Regions from separate parts of the Homo sapiens genome. Here all the other regions are linked to region 2. The links are contacts of gene promoters, found by promoter capture Hi-C in blood cells and fetal thymus (Javierre and others, 2016). All regions are on one chromosome and are shown on one strand. Each heading gives the region's core, a stretch centred on a gene start or on the middle of the fragment in contact. The rest is flanking DNA. Distances are from core to core; before and after follow the strand shown.

Region 1 (3,556 bases), core at 536-3,035, 390 kb before region 2:
ACATAATATGTAAAATATGTAAATATTTGTAAAATACTGTGTAAAATATGTAAATATTTACATAATATGTAAAAATTCACAATATTTACATAATATTGTGAATTAGAGTCAATATTTACATAATATAGCTGATTTGTTTTGGTAATTTTACTTCTTAGGCTCTGTTATTGTGATAATCTGTGATTTTTATTTAAAGTTGGGCACTTAAATGTATGGGAATTTAACATTCTCATACAAAGAAAGGGAAAAGGACAGAAAGGAAGGAAGTCAGTTGTCAAGCCATTCATGAATGGCCCCCAGCACCTGATCAAATGAGTACTGATGAAAAATACTTAAAGCCCTGTGGCAACTGGCGTTTGTGACAGGCTTTTAAAATACACACTCTCCTTTGAAGTTCACCTTTTTTCTTCAGGTCTTTCCTGAGGGACACAAAGAATTCAAACAAACACTAGAAATCCTCTTCATGTATCTGCTGCTTTAATGGAAACTAAGCTCCACCTGGTGGTAGAATGGGTTTTTTGTCTTTGGACTTCGGCATGTCCACTGAGATGCATTCAGCAGGGAAACAAAATCTGTATACATCTAAACATACGCATACATTGATGTGTTATGTATGTGTGATTTTCAGATGTTGTCACAAAAGTTGTGAATTATGCTTATTCTTGTGCTTTATTGGCATTTAAAGCAAGGCATTCAGCATTTGCTTACTATCAATGTCTCATGATGTTCAGGCTCTCAGCAGTGACCAGAATGATCTTACTGTGATAATCACAAAATCTTGCCTCTGTTTCATGTTAAGATTGTTTTCAAAAGGATTTGACTTACACTTTGATAGTAATAGTAGTTTATGACTAATAAAAATGGAGAAATGCTTGAAAATATTAACTCAAGTAATAGTGCTGGTTAGTACAACTCTTAATACGTGACTATGTCTTTTCTCTCTCTCATATAAGAGCATTATTGTGTTGAGTGACAGAAGTTTGTAACATTTAGCTTTATAGGAACTAGAAGCCCTCCAGCTGGATTTAGCCCACAGATCTGTTGTCAGATCTGTGTTAAAAATACAAAATAGGTGTTTACATTTGCAAATTGGGGCATTTCATAAAAATGCAGCCATCTAGCAATGACGGGCCTTTTTCTTTTACTGAAACACTGTCTGTTCTGTCACACAGGCTGGAGTGCACTGGTGTGATCTCAGCTCTCTGAAGCCTCAACCTCCTGGAGCTCAAATGATCCTCCCACCTCAGGCTCCCAAGTGTCTGGGACTACAGGAGCCTGTCATTACACCTGGCTAATTTTTGTATTTTTTATAGAGACAAGGTTTTGCCGTGTCGCCAGGCTGGTTTCAAGCGACCCTCCTACCTTTGCCTCTCAAACTGCTGGGATTACAGGCATGTGCCAATGCGCCCGGCCAGGGGATCTTTTTCCTTCAAGGCAAGTGACCTCAACCTGAAGAGTAGCTAGCCTTTTAAGAAGCGGCACTGATATGGTCAGGTTTTTTGTCCCCATCCAAATCTCATCTTGAATTGTAATCCCCATAATCCCTACAGGTCAAGGGAGAGACCAGGTGGAGGCAATTGAATCATAGCCCAGGTGGAGGCAATTGAATCATAGCCCAGGTGGAGGCAATTGAATCACAGACCAGGTGGAGGCAATTGAGTCACAGGCGTGGTTCCCCCCAGTCTGTTCTCACGATAGTGAGTTCTCACGAGATTGACGGTTTTATAAGGGGTTCTTTCCCATTTCACTCAGCGCTTCTCCTTCTTGCCGCCTTCTGAAGGAGGTGTCTGCTTTGCTTTCCGCCATGATTGTAAGTTTCCTGAGGCCTCCCCAGCCATGCTGACTGTGAGTCAATTAAGCCTCTTTCCTTTATAAATTATCCAGTCTCAGGCAGTTCTTACAGCAGTGTGAGAATGGACTAATACAGGCACAAACTCTTATTATCCGCAGGCCCATCTACCCCTTGAGGTAACACACACTGCCTTCTTCACTCATTATTGCCTGATTTCTGTAGTCACTCACATTTATGACCACTGTATTTTATTTATAATGTCTCTCTGAGAAATTTTTAGTTTAGCACAAGGAGAAAATGAAATGAGTTAATAACCATCAAAAATATGAAAGAAAACCACCCAAATGGTATTCAATTGCTTTCTCTATAGTTTTTCACAACGGCCCAGTGGTGCAGTAGGTATATTTCAAATAGTATGATAGATATTTAATTAAATTTGTATTGTTTTAAGCCACCAGGTTTGTGGTAATTTGTTATGGCAATAATAATAATAATAAACTAATACACCAGCAAAGAGAAGTTTTGAAGTTTGCTTCCTGAAGTTCTTATGAGAATATTTTTTCAATATGTAAAATTATAATACTAAGCATGCAAACTGCCTACCATTCCCTTCCTTGTGCTACCTATTCCCTTGAGAATTACTTTTCTAATCCTTCCCTACCCCTGTATAGCAGGGAGAGAAGGTCATGGTTAAAGAACTGTACTTCTGTAGCATGGCAAGGAGGGCAGGCCATGGCAAATAGGAGAACTGTGGTAAGAGCTAATCATAGGGAGGAGGTTTCAAAAGATAAACTTTCTTTTTCCTGAAGATTGCCATAGTCTCTGGATAGATTAAGTAGATGTTTAAAATGACATATGGATATGTTCTCGAAGTAGTAGAAGTGATTTTGCTCATAGTTTTTCTAGTGTGATAGAAAGGCCATATCTACTGGTGTCCAGGTTCAGACTCATAGTATGTAGATTATTGAGAATAAAGTAGGTTAAAGGGATTGAGGAGAAAGCATAGTTAATTGATCTGTAGTGGGGAAGTGGGAATTAATTGAGAGAGTTTAGATATCAAGATACTGAGAATTTGTAAATAGAACTGGATTTAAATGTATATCAAATATTTACATGTAAATACATTGCAGAATGTTCTCTCCAATTTGGAAATGCTCCTTTTATAGCAAAAAGCAGTCTGAGTCAATACTCTTCCAGCTTTATTATGGATATAATATTTAGAAAATAAAAGCATAAATTTGTGTAGCCTTTCCAGGCCCCTGCAGATGACCACCTTAAGAAGAGAGAGTACATTTTAACCATAATCACTTTGTTCACATTATTGCTGTTTCTTCTCTGAGATGCATGATATTTGTTAGCAAGACCTTTCTGTTGCTTTTGAATGACAGAAAACTACTGAACCACCTTGCAACCTACTAAGAGAATGATACTTTAAAATGTTTCCATGAGATTATGGCACTGTAAGACCCCTTTGCCGTCTGTATACTATCACTGATAAGCACACTGACTGTCAGGTATGTGATGGTGTAGGGGGGATGATGCAGTTACACATATTCACAGTCAAGCCTCCAGATGCAGAAATTCATGGAAATAGACCTCACAGTTGGCTACTCCTGAGAATATGCCGGATTTGCACAGAGAAGTCCAGGGATACTAACTATGCTGCATTTAAATACCATCAGCTGAATAGGTCAGTAAACTGATACTCTAAAATGAACACTTAAATACAGCTTTCCTATAGAAAAAAAAGTTCATGTTTGAATA
Region 2 (3,376 bases), core at 444-2,943:
TTTTTTTTTTAAACGAAGTCTGCAAAACTAATTTCCCTCAAAATAGAGCTCAATTTCCGTTAAAGAAAGCAGCGCTTACAAATCTCAGAATTCCTGATCAACCCCCACTCCACCCCACCTCTGAGCAATAGAAAACAATTCGATCTTTCACACGGATGTTATTGCGAAGCCACTATTCTGCAGTGTGACTTAAAAGAAAAGAAGATAGTGAGGCTTAAGCAAGGGGACTGGAAGAGGAGGGGAAAGGTTCTGCTTTGGGGACACCTCTCAAAGATTAATCAATGCTTTTTCCTAATTCAAACCAGATGTCTAGCCCAGTTTGCTGTACCCATTAATCCCACTAACAACTTCAAAGACCTGGTCATCATCCTCTGGACACCTGAGACAATGAAAAAACGGGGCGACACTGCTGGTGGCGCATTTGGGGCCCCGGGCAGAATAGGTGACTACAGATATTCTCCTGATGCGACAGGTCGCAGATGGGACATGACTGTTCCTCCTGCTCATTACAGCGCCACTCACTTGTGTGTAAACGACTCTGCCCCCAGCGGACCCTGTCGCCCGCCAAGCAAGTAGCAGCTTCAAAGCCCTGCCCTCGCTCTCGCATGCTTACTAGAGGCGAGTTTTCTATTTTATTTTCAGGGGTGCAAAATTGTAACCAAGTGCCCACGGTGAGTGAATTTTGGGAGCTATCGAAATGTAAGAATTCTCAGTAAATGGAACCCTGGTGGTAAGGAATGCATTAGCGGATTTATTTTTGAGCAGAAGAGAGTGGATTTCTGGAGGAAACCGAGGAGATCTGGGCTAGCTCCTGAGGGGAAAGGCTAGAAATGCGCGTGCAATCTACACATCTCATATGACCGGGACACAATCGCTTGGAAATATTCTTGACCCAGGAAAAGTTCTTCTTGGTGGACAAGTGGCTAGGAAATTGAGCGGGACCGGGAAAGAGGGGGAAGGGAGCCTCCACCTGGCATCGCACGTGAGGATGCCAGGGAGCAGGCATCTGCAACCCTTTCAGACTCACGCCTTCCTCCCACCCACCCAACCAGGTCCGTCTTCTTTCTGCACTGAGAACCGCCTTTTCCAGGCCATGGTGCTCATCCCCGCAACCTCAGATCTGGCGTCCCAGCCTATTAACAACCCACCGACAGAAACCAGCTGCGAAAACCTAGGCGCGCTGCGGCGCCCGGGGCACGGGAAGATGCAAAGTTTGAAAAACTTCGAGGGTGCGCCAAACTAGCTCTGGTCTTTTCCTTTAACCCTATTACTTCTTTCGTGTTCCTGAAAGGATAGGCGTATCCCTAGCTTTTCTGCAGGTGACAGTTCCCAAATGACACTGACAAGTCACGTTTCCCCGAGAGGAAAGTGAGTAGGTAGGAATCAGGGTGCTAGGTTGGGGGTGGTGTGCGCCGCGCCCAGGCCTCCAGAGTCTGGAGGGCAGAGCTGCTGCCCTCCCGGGCGGGACTTAGACGTTGGCGTGCCGCTTGTAGTCCTGGCAGCCGGCAGTGCTGGGCGGGCGTGGACGCTCTACGTCCGTCCAGCAGGAGATAGGAAGTGGAACTGGGAGCGCGTGGCGCAGGCTGAGCGGGAGTTTTGGAGGGAGTTTGCATGTGGTCAACTCTGGGCTCCTAAGCCAGCCCCCAGCTCACGTTACACTCTATTTATAACTTCTCAGAGCCATTTCCCCCTGAAAGCAGTTCTCTGGGACCACCTTCTTTTGGCTTCAACCTCTCCCACTCTTGACATCTGAGTAGCTCAGGGAAGCTCTTCCAGGTCCGACTGTTCATATGTAAAGGAGACTGGCCGCTGGGGCTCAGGACCGGGATTATCCGAGCTCTGCAGAAGTGCACCGCTATTGCTTTGGGAGGTTAAAAAAAAAATCACACGGTTTCCAGTGAAAAAGTGACAGAGGGTGGTGGCCTTTGGAACCGCCGTGAAGTCTTCTGCCTGGAACCCGAAACTTGCATGCTATGGAACACCCGCTCTTTGGCTGCCTGCGCAGCCCTCACGCCACGGCGCAAGGCTTGCACCCGTTCTCCCAATCCTCTCTCGCCCTCCATGGAAGATCTGACCATATGTCTTACCCCGAGCTCTCTACTTCTTCCTCATCTTGCATAATCGCGGGATACCCCAACGAAGAGGGCATGTTTGCCAGCCAGCATCACAGGGGGCACCACCACCACCACCACCACCACCACCATCACCACCATCAGCAGCAGCAGCACCAGGCTCTGCAAACCAACTGGCACCTCCCGCAGATGTCTTCCCCACCGAGTGCGGCTCGGCACAGCCTCTGCCTCCAGCCCGACTCTGGAGGGCCCCCAGAGTTGGGGAGCAGCCCGCCCGTCCTGTGCTCCAACTCTTCCAGCTTGGGCTCCAGCACCCCGACTGGGGCCGCGTGCGCGCCGGGGGACTACGGCCGCCAGGCACTGTCACCTGCGGAGGCGGAGAAGCGAAGCGGCGGCAAGAGGAAAAGCGACAGCTCAGGTAAGGGCGCGCCAGGCACCCTCGAGAGTGCGCGCCGGGCTGGAAAAGGGGCGGAGAGATACTAGGGGAGATTCTCGCACTGGAGGGTGGCAGCAGGGAAGATGGGAATGTGTTGCCCTCTGTGGCTTCCTGCGGCCAAATTCGGCGGTGAAGCTTTGGTCCTGATATTTGGGGACACGTGTTTATTCGAGAGCAATGCGTATACAGCCAGCAGCTCTAAGCCCTCCAAAGTCCTAAACTAGTTTACCAGAAGGTTGATAAAAAAGGACAAGTGGCTGTGAAATCGATTGTGAAGCGTGACCTTCCATCCCAGCGCTGGGGAGGGAGGGGCGTGCGCCCAGGGATGCAGCGTCCGTTGGGCAGGCGTGCGTGCGGGTGCCGCTTCTTGACTTTTCTCTTGCAAGTTGCCGACTCTGAGTGGCTCGATTTTTCCCATCGTTAACTGGATTTCCAAATTATTGCACAATGTTTGGAACTTGCAATGGAACTTGGCAGAGCGCATGAGAAAAAAAAGTTTCAGTTTTTTTTTTTTAACATTCTTATTTCAGCGTTCTTTAAATAGCACCCTATTTCAAATGGTAAAATTTTCCCTTTATTGGGGAAGAAGACATTATCTAGGAATTCAGATTTTAAGGAATGTGTCAGAGAATTGTAAATAAATAGATGCTCACACTGGAAGAAAGACGAACCTTAATAGTACATGTCCATGTGGTGTAAGCTAATTACAGAACCTAAGTTTCAAAAGTGGAAAATAAATCCCTCTACCAAGTGGGTATTAGTAGAGACAAATACTGCGAAGCAACAGCAACTCGGGTACTGTTAGTTAGATACGTGTCTAAAGGGGTATGCAAGGGTGCGCGCAGGAGGCGCTGATTTCAGTGGGGAT
Region 3 (3,215 bases), core at 231-2,730, 360 kb after region 2:
CAGGAGGGAGGATTCTAAAGAGAAGTCATGTTCACTTTTCATCAATTTACATTTTGCCAAGACGCTATATTCTAAAAAACACCTATCATCCCTTACCCCTTTCAGGTTAAACTGATTATATGTCATTTTCAGTAAGTAATCAAATACAGCCAAATGTAAACACAGTGGGAGTTTTGCCATATAGATGCCTGGGCTCCATCTAGTGGTAAAAGTTAACTGTAAGTTTTATCATTTTCCTTAACCCCCCCTTTAATTCAAATGTATTTAATAAATAGAATGTGTGTCTTGAGGAGATCATAAATTAAGTTTTATATTTTTTCTAAGAGTAATATCCCAGTTTAAAAAAAACCTGTATCTATTATTTAATTTAGCACTGCTTCTAATGAGAATATTTCCTCTGCTTTATAAAACTTGGCTTAGTTACTGCAGTGACTGCTCATTTATAAACTTTTTTTATTCTTTGGTTTGTTTCTTCCTCTTGCTCTCCCTCTCCTCCTCCTCCTCCGTCTTCTTCCTCTTCTTTTTGTCATTAAAGGGGACAGAAACAAATTGCGAACAACCAAGTCAAGATGTCATAAATTGCTATAGTAAAATGTTGTATAAAAGCAAAAATAATAAAACTTCCTATTAAGATAATCCTAATGAAAAATTAATATACAGGGTTCAAAAATAATTGGATGACAAAATTTGGATGACTCAAAAGTAAAATGTGAGCTGATAAGGTACAATGCTATATTTTCAGTTTAAGCATTTTGCTTTTTACATGACATTTCTTTTAAAGTTTTGAGTTATTTTTTCTGTTTCAACCATTTTCCTTTTTGATTGTTTATATTTTAAAGGCCTGATGTGCTGTTGAAATAGAGTCCTTTTGTATGTGTGCATGTATAGGTGTGTAATGTTTTATTCTTCACCAGTTAGCTTGGATGTAAATTTTGTGAGAGAAGTTTGTTTAAAAAACAACGGAAAATAATTAAAAATAAGCTTTTTAAGGTTAATCTTAATCTGACATGCCCTTGAACGCTCACTGATTAAATAATTGCAGATAATATTATGTATTAAATTTTACAAATAAAATTATTAAATGTAGAAATGCTAATATATAATTATTTAGATATGTGTGAAAGTACATATTTGATATAGTGAATACTATTTATTAGCCTTTAATGCCTTCCAAGTAAAGTCACGATGCAGATATATAATGCAAGTTAATTTGGATATATAATTTAAACATGACTGCATGAAACTAAATCTATCTATCCAGTATATATTTCTCAAAACGTGAAATTAAAATCAGGTATAATAAACAAAGTTCTTTTTATTCAAATGTTACTTACCAATAAGAAACAATTACAGGGCTTCCTGAGGGGTTTTCAAAGCATGTTAAAAATGTTAGGTATTTGAATTTTTTAAACTCAAAAATTTTTTTTTAATTTTTAATTTTACTTTGGTTTGGAGTGGCCTACAGAGATTCACTAGAGCTGGGGTCCCCAACTCCCCAACCACGGACTGGTTGGTGGCCTATTAGGAACCGGACCACACAGCAGGAGGTGAGCAGCAGGCAAATAAGCATTACTGCCTGGGCTCTGCCTCCTGTCAGATCAGTGGTGACATTAGATTCTCATGGGAGCTCGAACTCTATTGTGAAATGCACATCAGAGGGATCTAGATTGCGCAGTCCTTGTGAGAATCTAATGCCTGATGATCTGAGGTGGAACAGTTTCTTCCTGAAACCGTATCTTCTCCCCGACACCGCCCCCCACCATCTGTGGGAAAATTGCCTTCCATGAAACATGTTCCTGGTGTCAAAAAGGTTGGGGGCCACTACATTAGAGGACAGACCTCAGGAGTGAGGGAGATGAGGGGGAGAAGAAAGGCAAAACCCTGGGGCCTCTGGCCATGTAGGGGTCTGAAGCCAGAGAAAAAAAGAAATCAAGAAGGCACTTCAGGACATCTAAATAAGAACAAGAAACCAAAGCTTATAAAGAAAATGCCTTGAGAGATCCTACTGTAATAGTAGGAATAACCCAAGATGGGCGCTTTAAAAGATAGAACATCAGCAACTAGGAGAGCTGACCTTGGGATCTGGAACTTACAGGATTGGGAGACAAACACGTGGGGACAGGGTTGCCTGATACCAACGTCTAAAAGTCTGAGATACTGATGCAGTTTTCTGTCTCAACTATGGCACACACCATTATTATTACTGCCTCTTTGTGAAAGTGAGTGAGCAGAGCCTGGTCTGAAGGCCAGTTTGTATTAGCTGAGTGTTGGGTTGCTGCGCTGGAGTAATACTGATGATTGTCTGATGGAAACATTGGCTTAAAGTAGTCTTATTTTTACTACGCTTGTATCTCTAATACATTGTTACAGCAACATATGGTAGTATATAGAACAATTACATAAATATGCACTTTAATACAAATTACAGTTTTAAAGAAAGCCACAGTTTCAAAATAGAAATGTCTGCGGCAAGCTTGAGTTTTAAATGTGGCTTACTCTGAGGTAGTAGCAAGAACATTGACGTTTCAAACCCTTGCTTGCAGTTAAAACAAGCTGAAAGCAAAGAAACACAGATTTGGCAACATCTCGTGTCTGTTTTGATAATTTCACAATTTAAAAATGATTAGAAAGTCATGAAATCATCTAGCACAATACCACGAGGCTTTCCTTGTTAACAGCTGCAAAGCTGCTCTGAAGCCCAGAGTCAGGAGGCAGTCTTTTCCATCCCATAGCCCTTTGCTCTGGCAAAAGTCATGCACTGCAAGCTCGGGAGACAGCTTGGAATCATATGAGAATCAGCGCGTTATTTTCTGTCTAAATATTATAAGAAATTGGGAGTGTTTTAGTGACCTACCTAGATAAAATTTTAGCAGTCTTCTGTAGCATGAAATTGTAAGACAAAACTCAAATGAAAAGTATAATGTTGACAATATCCCTCCTACCATCTCCATATGACATATTTATTGTATACACTGTATTTCTCCTCACACTTTATCTTTTATCCCCCTTGAAAGGAAGGTGATGGGATCTCTCTATGCTGGTTATTTTTTTCTTTGTCTGACTTCTTCCAATTCTTTTATATCAATGTATTAACAAAAATAAACAATATAAATATACAAACAAAAAGTTAAACAGTCAGAATTAATTACTATTGGAAATGTTTTCTTAGGGCAAATTGTAACTGCTCATGGTGATTATTCAATAAGCAAAATTAT
Region 4 (3,194 bases), core at 126-2,625, 380 kb after region 2:
TACACAAATCTACACATACATATATATGCACCTACAATATTACTACATTATATAGAAAACTAATAATTAGGGACCTGTCTTTTCTAACATTTTGCATATCTCTTTAAAAATAAAATTCAATGAAAACAACACCTGACTTACATTGGCTAGATGAGATCTTATGTTGACGCTTAGGGGAAATGGAGAAAAGTACATTTCAATAGGGCACTGGACTTCAAAGTTGGCTTAGTTTTATCCCACCCAGAAAGTTTGTTTTATAACTCTTTTGATACATTTGAAGATTCTCACAACACAGAGAGCTGTTAAGAATGTATAAAGTATTTCCCCTCTGCTGATCATCTTTTTTATTGGTACCTACTCAAAAATTTGGAGATGTACTCCTATGGAAAAAAAATGTTGGCCCTACTCAGCTTGCCTGTCTGTAAAACTGCTCAGTAAGGATAACGATAGTTCTTCATTACGTGTGCCTGTAGTTGCAATTAAGATGTTCCCCCAAAGGATTTTTAGCAGGGCTTGTCTTCCTATAAAGGCCATGTCTCTTTCATACTGAGTGTTTAATGAATAACTAGTCTAAGGAACTATTGCTGATGAACTATTGCTTGATGTGGCTGATGGAGCAAATGGTTTCAGCCCAGTGCCTGAATACTTGGGATAATTGCATGAGTAGTAAAGTTGCTTACCATTAACAAATAGTAAGCGTTTAAGTTGTGAATTCAAACCAAATCACTCCATTTGACCAACCACAAGTCTGGACTTTGAAGTCTAACAAATTGGATTGAATCTGTTTTACCATACATTGACTGAATGTGTTTAGGTAAATTATTTAACCATTGCGAAACTTTGTTTCTTTATCCACAATATGTAAAAAACACTGGTGGCTTCCAAGAGTTATGTGAAGGCCTTTGAGAATTATAAAACATAACACATTAGTTGTTATATTTTCATTATATGTGCTGTAATAATATATCAACAGATACAGGAAAATCCAAGAGCTTTGGTTACAGAAAAGTTTTAAGTGGTTTCATTGTTTAACATTTTGGTGAAACATTGCTCTGGTGAAAAATAATTTAAAGGCATAAATCTTGTTTTTAGAAAGCTTACAGTAAATTGAGACAAACAAATGAGACAAGCAAATATGACAAGCAAATGAGTTAATACAAGCAAATGAGACAACAAACAGTTACTGTGCATAGTGAAAAACACCATGATGTAGGTAGATAGTAAGCAAACGCTGTAAGAGTATAGAGGTGAAATCTGACATTGGCAGGTCAGAAAAGTCTTCTCAAATGAGGTGAATGAGCAAAACCTTAAAAAAGAAGTGTGGGGGTAAGGTCAGTAGTGAAAGGAACAAGGATAAATTTTTAAATAGGAAAAAATATGCAAATTTATAACAAATTATTTATATTCAGAGAGTAACCAAGGATTTGGATTGATGGTGCTTGTGTGAGGGGTAAAAGTCTGATTGTTAAGGGATGAACATACAGGATAAGCAGAATTTACTCCATTCTGAAATTAGAACAGACATACTTTAAATAAAGAAATGACATAAATAGATTTGCTCTTTTGGAAATGTTTCCTGGCAGCCTGTGGGTAATGGATGGAAAACTGAAGGGGTGTAGTGAGGACCAGCAAGCCTGGAGGTATTGAAGCTTGTGGGGAAATTCCAGGTATTTAGAAAGTGGGGAGAGAATAGAGTTAGGTCAAACCATTAGGCGTTAGGAACTAATAGGATTGACAAGAGAGAGACATAAAATAAAAACTCCATCACACTTGTTTACTGATTGCTCAGAGGTGGGATATGAAGGAGGTATGGGTCTTATTTAGTCTTGTAAATTTCTGAATTGGTGAGTCCATATTTGCACTGAGATGGAGACCCAGGAAAAGGCAAAGATCTGAAAGGAGAGATACTGAGTTTGTTTGTGGGCATGTTTACTGTGAGATATCCAAATCTCAGTTGCAAATCTGTAACTTAGGAAACTAGGTGAGAGCTGGAGGTGTAAATTTGAGTGTCAGTTTGAAGATAGTAATTGAAACTATATGCATAGAAGCAATCACCTTGGGAAATGTTTTATTGTTCCTTGCTTTAATACAATTATATGATTAGGTAATTATAGTGTCCTTCTTATAGGCTTCATAAGAAAAAAAAAACTAGTATACTTTACTGATTTATTTCAGAACATCCTTACTAGTTTTAAAACAAATCAACTAGAGTCCTGTTCTTTTAGAGTTTAATTGATTAGCCCATCTAAATAAAGTTTTATTCACCACTGGCACTGTCACTTTTAGATTAAATATTTTGAACTATATTTATAAGTAATGGTAAATGCCTATTTTAACTTTTTACCATGTGATAAAATTGGTGATTCAAGGTTTCTTCCAAATAGATGGGCTTGGCTTTTGAAGACAAGTCATGTCAAACAAGGATTCCCACGTTTTATGGCCGCAGAACAGTCTGTCATAAGGGAATATAAATTATGTCCTCACCTCTCACAAGACTGTTAACAACTAGATAACTAGACTGGATAATAAGATATTGTAATATATGAATGTCATCATCATTACTAGTAGATTTGTCCTATTAGTGATGGGTGAACTGCAAAATTACAAATGGAAACTTATTTTTTGGAATCACTTTATAATTATTTCGTTTTTGAATAATTTTAAGTGTAGATCTTTGTACAACTTTCTATATTAAAATTCACCAAAATTCAGTATGCTTTAATGATTATTTCTCATGATTGTAACGTATGCATTTAATATTGCAAACTATTTTATACAAAGAGTTCATTACCTCTGTTATGATTATAACTTATTGTAATAATATTTTATACACTAACTGAATAATTTATGTTTCTCCAACAGCCCTTTCCAATGTGGCATACTTAGCATAATAAAGTAGAAATCTTAGTTTAGGGACATATTCCTCAGCCTATAAGAACTAGTACAATCTAAAATAGTAGGTGAAAACTTAAATTGTGCTAATTCTAAACATTAAAATCTAACTATTTGAAGCATTAACAATCCTTAATAGTGCCATAAACCATATTAACTTTTTAGCAAGGTAACACAAATTGCCATATTTTGTAATGCTTTTTTTTTTTTACACAGTCATATTCTGTTATAAGTGAAATTGGGCTCCAGGCCAAGGAGAACTTTGGAGAACTTTTAAGTTTGAGTGACTGTCTCACAGCTGG
Region 5 (3,476 bases), core at 909-3,408, 370 kb before region 2:
TTGTTTTCAAGGTTCAACAATTACAATACTATTTCTTTATTGTATTGGTTTTATTGAGTTAAAACTCAGACAATCTTTCTAATTTCAACAAATACCAGTTTCTTGCCATTCCCAATGATAAAAAAAATTAGAATATTCATACTACAAACTTCTGTCCCTCTTTCCTCCATCTCCTAACTTTGTTCATTTGTACCTTTTGCATTTTCAAAATTGGTAAGATTTACATGCTGCATTAGAATCTTAAGCACAGAATGCTTTAAATTTTGTCTCTTAGATTACTCGATAGTATAATCTTAAATTTTTTTAAATTATGATTATTATAAATAATAATTATACAAAACCAAAAATTGTGCTGGAAATATATACTCTCATTTAATTCTAAAAGCATCAAATGTCATAACCTACTTGTAAGAAAAAGAATTTTAGAACAGTCTCAAAGGGATTCTTTCTTAATGCTGTCTAGCTCAATGCTTCATATTTTTAGTTCATTATGTTTCAGTAATTTTTTTCATCTTTTTCTGAAACATTTCCAGTTACTATTTCCTATTTACACTTCTGTGTCCTATTGAGAGACAAAAGATATATTTCTGCTGTATTATTTTCTTTCATCTGTTTATTCATTTTTCTTTCTAGTTGCATATTTATATGTTTATTTTAAAATAACTTCTAGGAACACAGAGTTAAAATAATTATAATTCTTGTTTTATGACATTGCCATCACTGATCCATATATTAATATATTTATATTATTAATATAATGAACTCTCACAACAATAACCAAGGATTAGAAAACTAATATCAGTTTTGTTTTTGAGTTTTATAAAAAGGGTATCACACAGTATATAATCTTTTGAGACTATTTTTCTTATGTTTCTAACATTCATTCAATGTTGGCACATGTGGCTTTGATAAACTGATTTTTACTATAGTATAATTCTCCCTTGTGTGAATATACTATAACTTGTCATCCTGGTGATATACATTTAATAGTTTCATTATTTTATATTACAAAGAGTGCTAAAATGAATATTGTTAAACATGTTTTATGATTCATATTTGTAAGAGTTAACTTGAATATGCTCAATATGGTAAAATTATTGGCTATGGAGTATACGGTTATCCAATTTCAAAAGTTAATACAAAAATGTTTTCTAATGTATTGCAACCAGAAGATACTTCCACTTGTAATGCACAAAATACTGCATTTAGCCACATATTCTCTAATGCTTGGTATTTAATGATTTCTTCATTTTTTTTTCCATTTAAATTGGCTCAAAATGGAATCATGTTAAGGGGTTGACTTGCTTTCACCTGATTATTCTTTTGCCACTGGTTTAAAAATACTGGTTTTGTTGAAGTATAATTGCATGGAGTATAGTCATCAATGTTAAAAGCATAAATTAATGAGTTTGAAAATGTGTATAGTCATATAATCACCACTGCATCAAGATATAGATAATTTCCATTTCCAACAATTCCATTCTCTCATGCTGCTTTGTCACCAACCCTTTCTCCAATCCAGCCCCTGGGAAAACACTGATCTTCTTCTGTCACTACACTTGTATCTTTTCTAAAATTTTATGTAAAATGGTATCATGAAGTCTGTAGCCTTCTATGTCTGCTTCTTTCACATAGAGTGCTTTTGAGATTCAACCACATTGTTCATATTAGTAGTTCATTCCATCTTGTTGCTATATAGCATTCCATTACATAGATAAAACATAATTTATTATACATTAAATGAAGAGTGGACATTTGCGTTGTTTCCCATTTTTGGCTCCTGTAAGTAAAGCTTCTATAAACGTTGGCTTACGAATCTTTGGTGGGGATGTATGTTTTCATTTTTCTTGGGTAAATATGAAGCAGTGAGATTTCTGGGTGATTTGTTTATGTTTAACTTTATCAGAAAGTACCAGAACGTTTTCCAAAGTGGTTATACCATTTCACATTCCCATTAGAAATGTATGAGAGTCCCAGCTGCTTTACATCCTCATTAATTTTTTGTATGACCAATCTTTATAATTTTAGCCATTCCAGAGGATGATAGTGATATCTCATTTTGTGTGTGTGTGTGTGTGTGTGTGTGTGTGTGTGTGCGTGTGTGTATAACATGTCCAGATAGTTTTTCTTATTTTCTATCATGTTGCTTATATTCTTTATATATTCTGCATACAAGTCTTTTACTAATTATATGTTTTACATTTTTTTCCAAGTCTACGGCTTACCTTTTATTTTTTTGATGATGTCTAGTGATGAATAAATATTTTAAAATTCAATTATCAATTAATTTTTCTGTTACTGTTTTTACTTTTTCTGCTCCAAGGAATCTTTTCCTGACCACAGCTTGTGAAGGTCTTTCCCTATATTTTCTTTAGAAGTTTTATATTTAACTTTTATTTTGATAATGTTTTTCAAAATAAATTTTGTATATGCCATAGGATAAGGGTTACGGTGAATTTTTCCCTTATATATTCAATTGTTCAGCACACTTTTGTTAGAAAGACTAGTGATACAGTTAAGCTTGGTGTTCCCACCCAAATCTCAACTTGAATTGTTGTAATCCCAATAATCCCCATGTGTCCAGGGAGAGATCAGGTGGAGGTAATTGAATCATGGCGGCAGTTTCCCCCATGCTGTTCTTGTGATAGTGAGAGAGCGCTCACAAGATCTGATATAAGGGGCTCTTTCCCCTTTGCTTGGCACTTCTTCCTGCCACCTTGTGAAGAAGGTGCCTTGCTTCCCCTTCACCTTCCACCATCACTGTAAGTTTCCTGAGGCCTCCCTAGCCATGCTGAACTGTGAGTTAATTAAACCTCTTTCCTTTACAAATTACCCTTTATAAATTACTCAGGCAGTTCTTTATCGCAGTGTGAAAATGGACTAATACAACTATTGTTAAACTAAATTTGGCCTGAGAAAGCCTTTTTACTTGCATACTTCAATTCTCATGAATTGCAACCTAACTTAGCACATAAATAAACTGAAAACCCAACTTAGGAGTATGTGTCTGTAAAAATAGGTGAGCCTCAGTCAACCACAGCAGCTGTGCCTCAGCCAATCACAGACAAGCAACTGTTCAAACTGTGTTCAAATAAAGCAACTGCTGAGCTGTAACCAAATCAGCAGTTTCTGTATCTCACTTCCATTTTCTGTACGTCACTTTTCTTTTTCTGCTCAGAAATATTATGCAACCATGCAGCAACCCCAGTTTCTCTAAGCATGTTCTGGTTCTGAGAGCTGCCTGATTTGCAAATCATTTTTTTTTTCTCAGTTAAGACTCTGCTAAATTTAATTTGTCAAAAGTTTTTCTTTTATTACCCTTTTCCTATTGCATTATCTTGGATTCTCTGGTTTCTCTTCAGAACACATAAATCTTTCACCTTTTAATATTGCATTATCTTGGTATATTTGTTAAAAATTAACCACATGTGTAGAGGTCCATTTCTAGACTCTTCTCTTCCGTTGATCTTATACCA
Region 6 (3,574 bases), core at 560-3,059, 410 kb before region 2:
TTGTTTTTCTCACACCCTATCAGTAGGTGATCGCTTTTTCCTGCAGTTTTGGCAATTGACATACACTGAAAAGTTATTTTCATCTCCACTAGGGGACAGTGTGCCCCCGTTAGGTTTTTTCTTCCATATCAGCAAAATGTTTACAAAAAGAAAATTTAGCTTCAAATTATTTTGATTTGATATTAATGATCTTATAACAAGTCTGTTGAAGGTTTAGTAAGTCTAACACTTGTGGTTTTTGTATATTGTATATGGTACAGAGATAGGGATGTGTATATTTATGACTAGATGTAAATATAGCTAGTACATTTTTGTTTAGTGTTTGAAATTTTGTGACATTTAAATAATAATTTTTGCATAAGTTCTCCAAAACAAGGATGGAAGAAGGGTATTAATATCAAACTATGAGCAACCTGAATTTCAGGAGATTTTGTAACTCATGGAAATTGAATTAGGTTTTAGGTATGGAATTTGCTGAGACAATGTAAATGTTTACCCTTAAAGAAACATTGTGTAATCTCTTGAGACATCTAAAGCCTAAATACATATGCATACATTTTAACTTTATAGTTTTCCTTTTAGCAGAGTACATTGTGTTCTTTAGAAGTGATGTGTATAGAGGATAGGTATCTCCAAGAGATTTCCTTTCAGCTTGTCCATAAAGATTTAGAGGAGAATTACATCATAGCTTTTCCTGCTATTCTTTGAGATGGCATTCCACCAAATCCACATAAATTTGATTCTAACAGCCTACTATAAGTTTGTTTACACTTTTTAAATTCAAATGCTGATATGTGTGTAGTTCAATTATGGGATTTATTGTTTCAAAATATACTTTTTAAAAAAGCTTGTCAATATTAAGTACTCTGGGAATAGTTTCTCCCGAAGTTATCCTTTGAGAAAATTGAAAGGGACAGTTAGTAAGTAAGGATTTTTGAGGACATGGGCATCATATAAAGTTGACCACTTATACACTTGCAAGGTGCTACATATTAGTAATTTACATTACTTCAGCCTTTCCTTGCTCAAATTTTGAGGTGGGAGGTGGAGAAGGATGTAACTGAAGAGCCACTATGAGTTATAGAGGTGCCACTGTCATTTCCAATCTTCTGTGAAAATCTCCTGCTTTTCCTGATTTCCCACAAGTTTGCCAAAGGCTTAGGAGTCCCATCAAAGTTTCATCAAGACTTCACTTGATGCTGGATATAGTCATCACAAAAGAACCAAGTCAACAACAAAAAGACAAACGCACACAAAGACTGGCATGTGGGACTTTATTGACACGACTTCATTACTATGACTAAATTTAGAATTACCTTGTATGTTTAAAAGATAATGGTAATTAGAGCTCTTCTTTTGTGCATCTTTCACCCAAACATGGTGTATTTCATCCTAAACTTGAAATTATAGGTGGTAGAGAAATAGCTAAATATAAGTTTCTAGGTAAAACTCATGGTGAATTTTAATCCTAAATAATTCAGTCTGATAATTTAGAAAATTAAAAATGCATATATTATATTGCGTTTTTGTCTTCTAATAGTCTTAAAACACAGCTATTATGAAACTCTTTAAGATCTCAGTGAACAATTGTTACATGCTGGGTAAAATTAAGTACACTTTTTTTGTTATTACTTTTAGATAGTTTTCTTAATATCTAAGAAGAAAGCTAAGACTTTGTGAATTATTAATATGATTCCTTTAGGGGCCTTTTACTGAAGCCTTGAATTTTCAAGCAAAAAAGGTTTTCTTTGTATAGATTTTGAAAATATTTATGGAGAGAAATGCTCCCGGAATTTGGACAACGTTCAGTACTATTGATTTTCTATGACAACAAATCAAGTTTAGCTCCCTGAATTTAACAGTCTTAAAACTAAATTTTAAAATAATTTGTTTTTCCTCCAAGAATAAAATGTGTTCATTGTGGGGGTTTTGAAAATATAGCAAAGCAGAAAGAAGAAATAATATTGTCATAAAGCCATCATCCAAAAATAACTTCTGTCAACATGTTTATATTTTCCCGCCCAGTATGTTAAGAAAGCGGACTACTGAAGAGTATACTGTTTTCCCCCTTTTTAGCTGGTCTCTATTTTTGCTATAATATAGTTGTAACCAAGAAAAAGAGTGAAGCTGGCTGTAATAGTTCACACCTATAAGCCTGGTACTTTGGGAGGATGAGGTAGAAGGATTGCTTAAGCCTAGGAGTTTGAGATCAACCTGGGCAACCTGCACTCTACCCTGGGCAACAAAATTTTCTAAAACAAAATTGACACTGTTATGAAGTGAACAAGATGATAAAACAAATTTTTTTTTTACTATCTTCAAGATTGCTTGTACTGTGTTCTGCTCTGCCTATTCATTATAAAACTAGTCCAATTAATTCTTAATTTCAAGCATTTTATAATTGTAAAATTCTCTTTATTATAGATTCTATGTTGAAAATTTCCATTTTTCATCAACATTTTTATCTCTAGTTCTATTTTTTAGTGTCTTAGGCATAGTTATTTTGAAATCCTTGCATGATGATTCCAATGTATGTCTCATTTCTGGGTCTGCTTAAATTATTTTTTTCTCCTGATTATGGGTGTTTTTTTTTCTGCATCTTTGCTTTCTGCTTCTTTGCCTATCTAGTGATATTTGATACCACACTTTGAGTGCAAAACATTATAAAAGCTCAAGATTATTTTAATGTCCTCTAAGGAATATGAAATTTGTTCTAGCAAGCAGTTGTATTGCTGAATCAATTTGATCCTGTGGACGTTGTTGAAGCTTTCTTAGGGCTGGTCGGATTCAGTTTTGCCTTATACCCAGGCTGTAGTCATGGCTTTTCAGATATCCCAGCTGAAAGCCATGGGTGTTCACCAAGGCGTCTTCATTCTAGCTGGACTCAGATTTAACCTCCTGCTCCTTGGCACAGTGGGGCCTCAAAAATCTCTCCTCAGCTCTCCAACTTTCCAGCAGTTATTCTCTGCTAGGCCTCGTTGAGTTTCTCCTTGGGCATGCACAGTTAGGAGCTGGCCAAGGACTGAAGGAATTTTTAGCAGATTTTTAGGAGTTCTCAGCAATTCCTTCCTGTCAGGCATGCTGCCTGCAGAAATACAAGCCACTTTGACAGCTTTAAATTGTTAATCTATGTCTTTTCTACCCAGAGAGATTGCTATGCTCTCCTTGGGTTCTGTTTCTCTTCTTTGTAGATTGGAAAAAAGCTCTCAGCATGACAGCTGGGGAGAATGTTAGGAGGCTCTTCTTTCAAGGATTATAGACATGCATATGTTACTGTCCAAGACCTGCAAAAAATATTCTCACATAAGTTTTCCAGATTTAATGGCTATATATGGTGAGAGGGTGATATACCCTACTCTATCATAGCTGAAATTAGTTTACTTCATAAAGGTAATAATTCTAACTGCTATTATTATTGAATATTTACTAGGTATCAGTGCTTTACATGTCTTATCTAAGTTCCCACAAAAAATGTTATCCCATTTTTAGATGAAAAAAATGGAGAGCTGTACAACTTCAGCTGTTTGCTCAAAGATCACTTAAGTTGTCAAGGCTGTATATAAATAGCAGCAAT

Evidence for each region. The method cuts DNA at HindIII sites, captures the fragments that hold promoters and counts their contacts. A CHiCAGO score of 5 or more calls a contact.
Region 1: a contact is called between a fragment that was not itself captured here and the fragment with the promoter of MEOX2 in region 2, in 1 of 17 cell types (endothelial precursors). The highest score is 6.6, in endothelial precursors.
Region 3: a contact is called between a fragment that was not itself captured here and the fragment with the promoter of MEOX2 in region 2, in 3 of 17 cell types (megakaryocytes, endothelial precursors and M2 macrophages). The highest score is 6.3, in megakaryocytes.
Region 4: a fragment that was not itself captured here is called in contact with the fragment with the promoter of MEOX2 in region 2 in 1 of 17 cell types (endothelial precursors); the score reaches 5.9 in endothelial precursors.
Region 5: a contact is called between a fragment that was not itself captured here and the fragment with the promoter of MEOX2 in region 2, in 2 of 17 cell types (endothelial precursors and M2 macrophages). The highest score is 5.8, in endothelial precursors.
Region 6: a fragment that was not itself captured here is called in contact with the fragment with the promoter of MEOX2 in region 2 in 1 of 17 cell types (endothelial precursors); the score reaches 5.3 in endothelial precursors.

Annotation. Positions count from the first base shown.
Region 1 is chr7:16,075,201-16,078,756 of GRCh38, reverse strand. No RefSeq gene overlaps it. Among named protein-coding and RNA genes, the nearest start is that of CRPPA-AS1, 130 kb to the left of the region's middle. RefSeq lists enhancers at 94-628, 955-2,154. The HindIII fragment of the contact is 6,394 bases long and covers 1-3,556 here.
Region 2 is chr7:15,685,000-15,688,375 of GRCh38, reverse strand. It overlaps MEOX2 (mesenchyme homeobox 2), which reads left to right and starts at 1,693. Exons shown (of 3, transcript NM_005924.5): 1 at 1,693-2,490. The coding sequence starts at 1,974. RefSeq lists an enhancer at 2,497-3,329. The HindIII fragment of the contact is 6,486 bases long and covers 1-2,645 here.
Region 3 is chr7:15,323,212-15,326,426 of GRCh38, reverse strand. The region is part of intron 12 of AGMO (alkylglycerol monooxygenase); the gene reads left to right. Among named protein-coding and RNA genes, the nearest start is that of AGMO, 240 kb to the left of the region's middle. The HindIII fragment of the contact is 994 bases long and covers 984-1,977 here.
Region 4 is chr7:15,306,480-15,309,673 of GRCh38, reverse strand. The region is part of intron 12 of AGMO (alkylglycerol monooxygenase); the gene reads left to right. All of the region lies in intron 1 of LOC124901592 (a long non-coding RNA gene), which reads right to left. Among named protein-coding and RNA genes, the nearest start is that of AGMO, 250 kb to the left of the region's middle. The HindIII fragment of the contact is 553 bases long and covers 1,099-1,651 here.
Region 5 is chr7:16,055,419-16,058,894 of GRCh38, reverse strand. No RefSeq gene overlaps it. Among named protein-coding and RNA genes, the nearest start is that of CRPPA-AS1, 150 kb to the left of the region's middle. The HindIII fragment of the contact is 728 bases long and covers 1,795-2,522 here.
Region 6 is chr7:16,095,298-16,098,871 of GRCh38, reverse strand. The region is part of intron 9 of CRPPA (CDP-L-ribitol pyrophosphorylase A); the gene reads left to right. Among named protein-coding and RNA genes, the nearest start is that of CRPPA-AS1, 110 kb to the left of the region's middle. The HindIII fragment of the contact is 1,919 bases long and covers 850-2,768 here.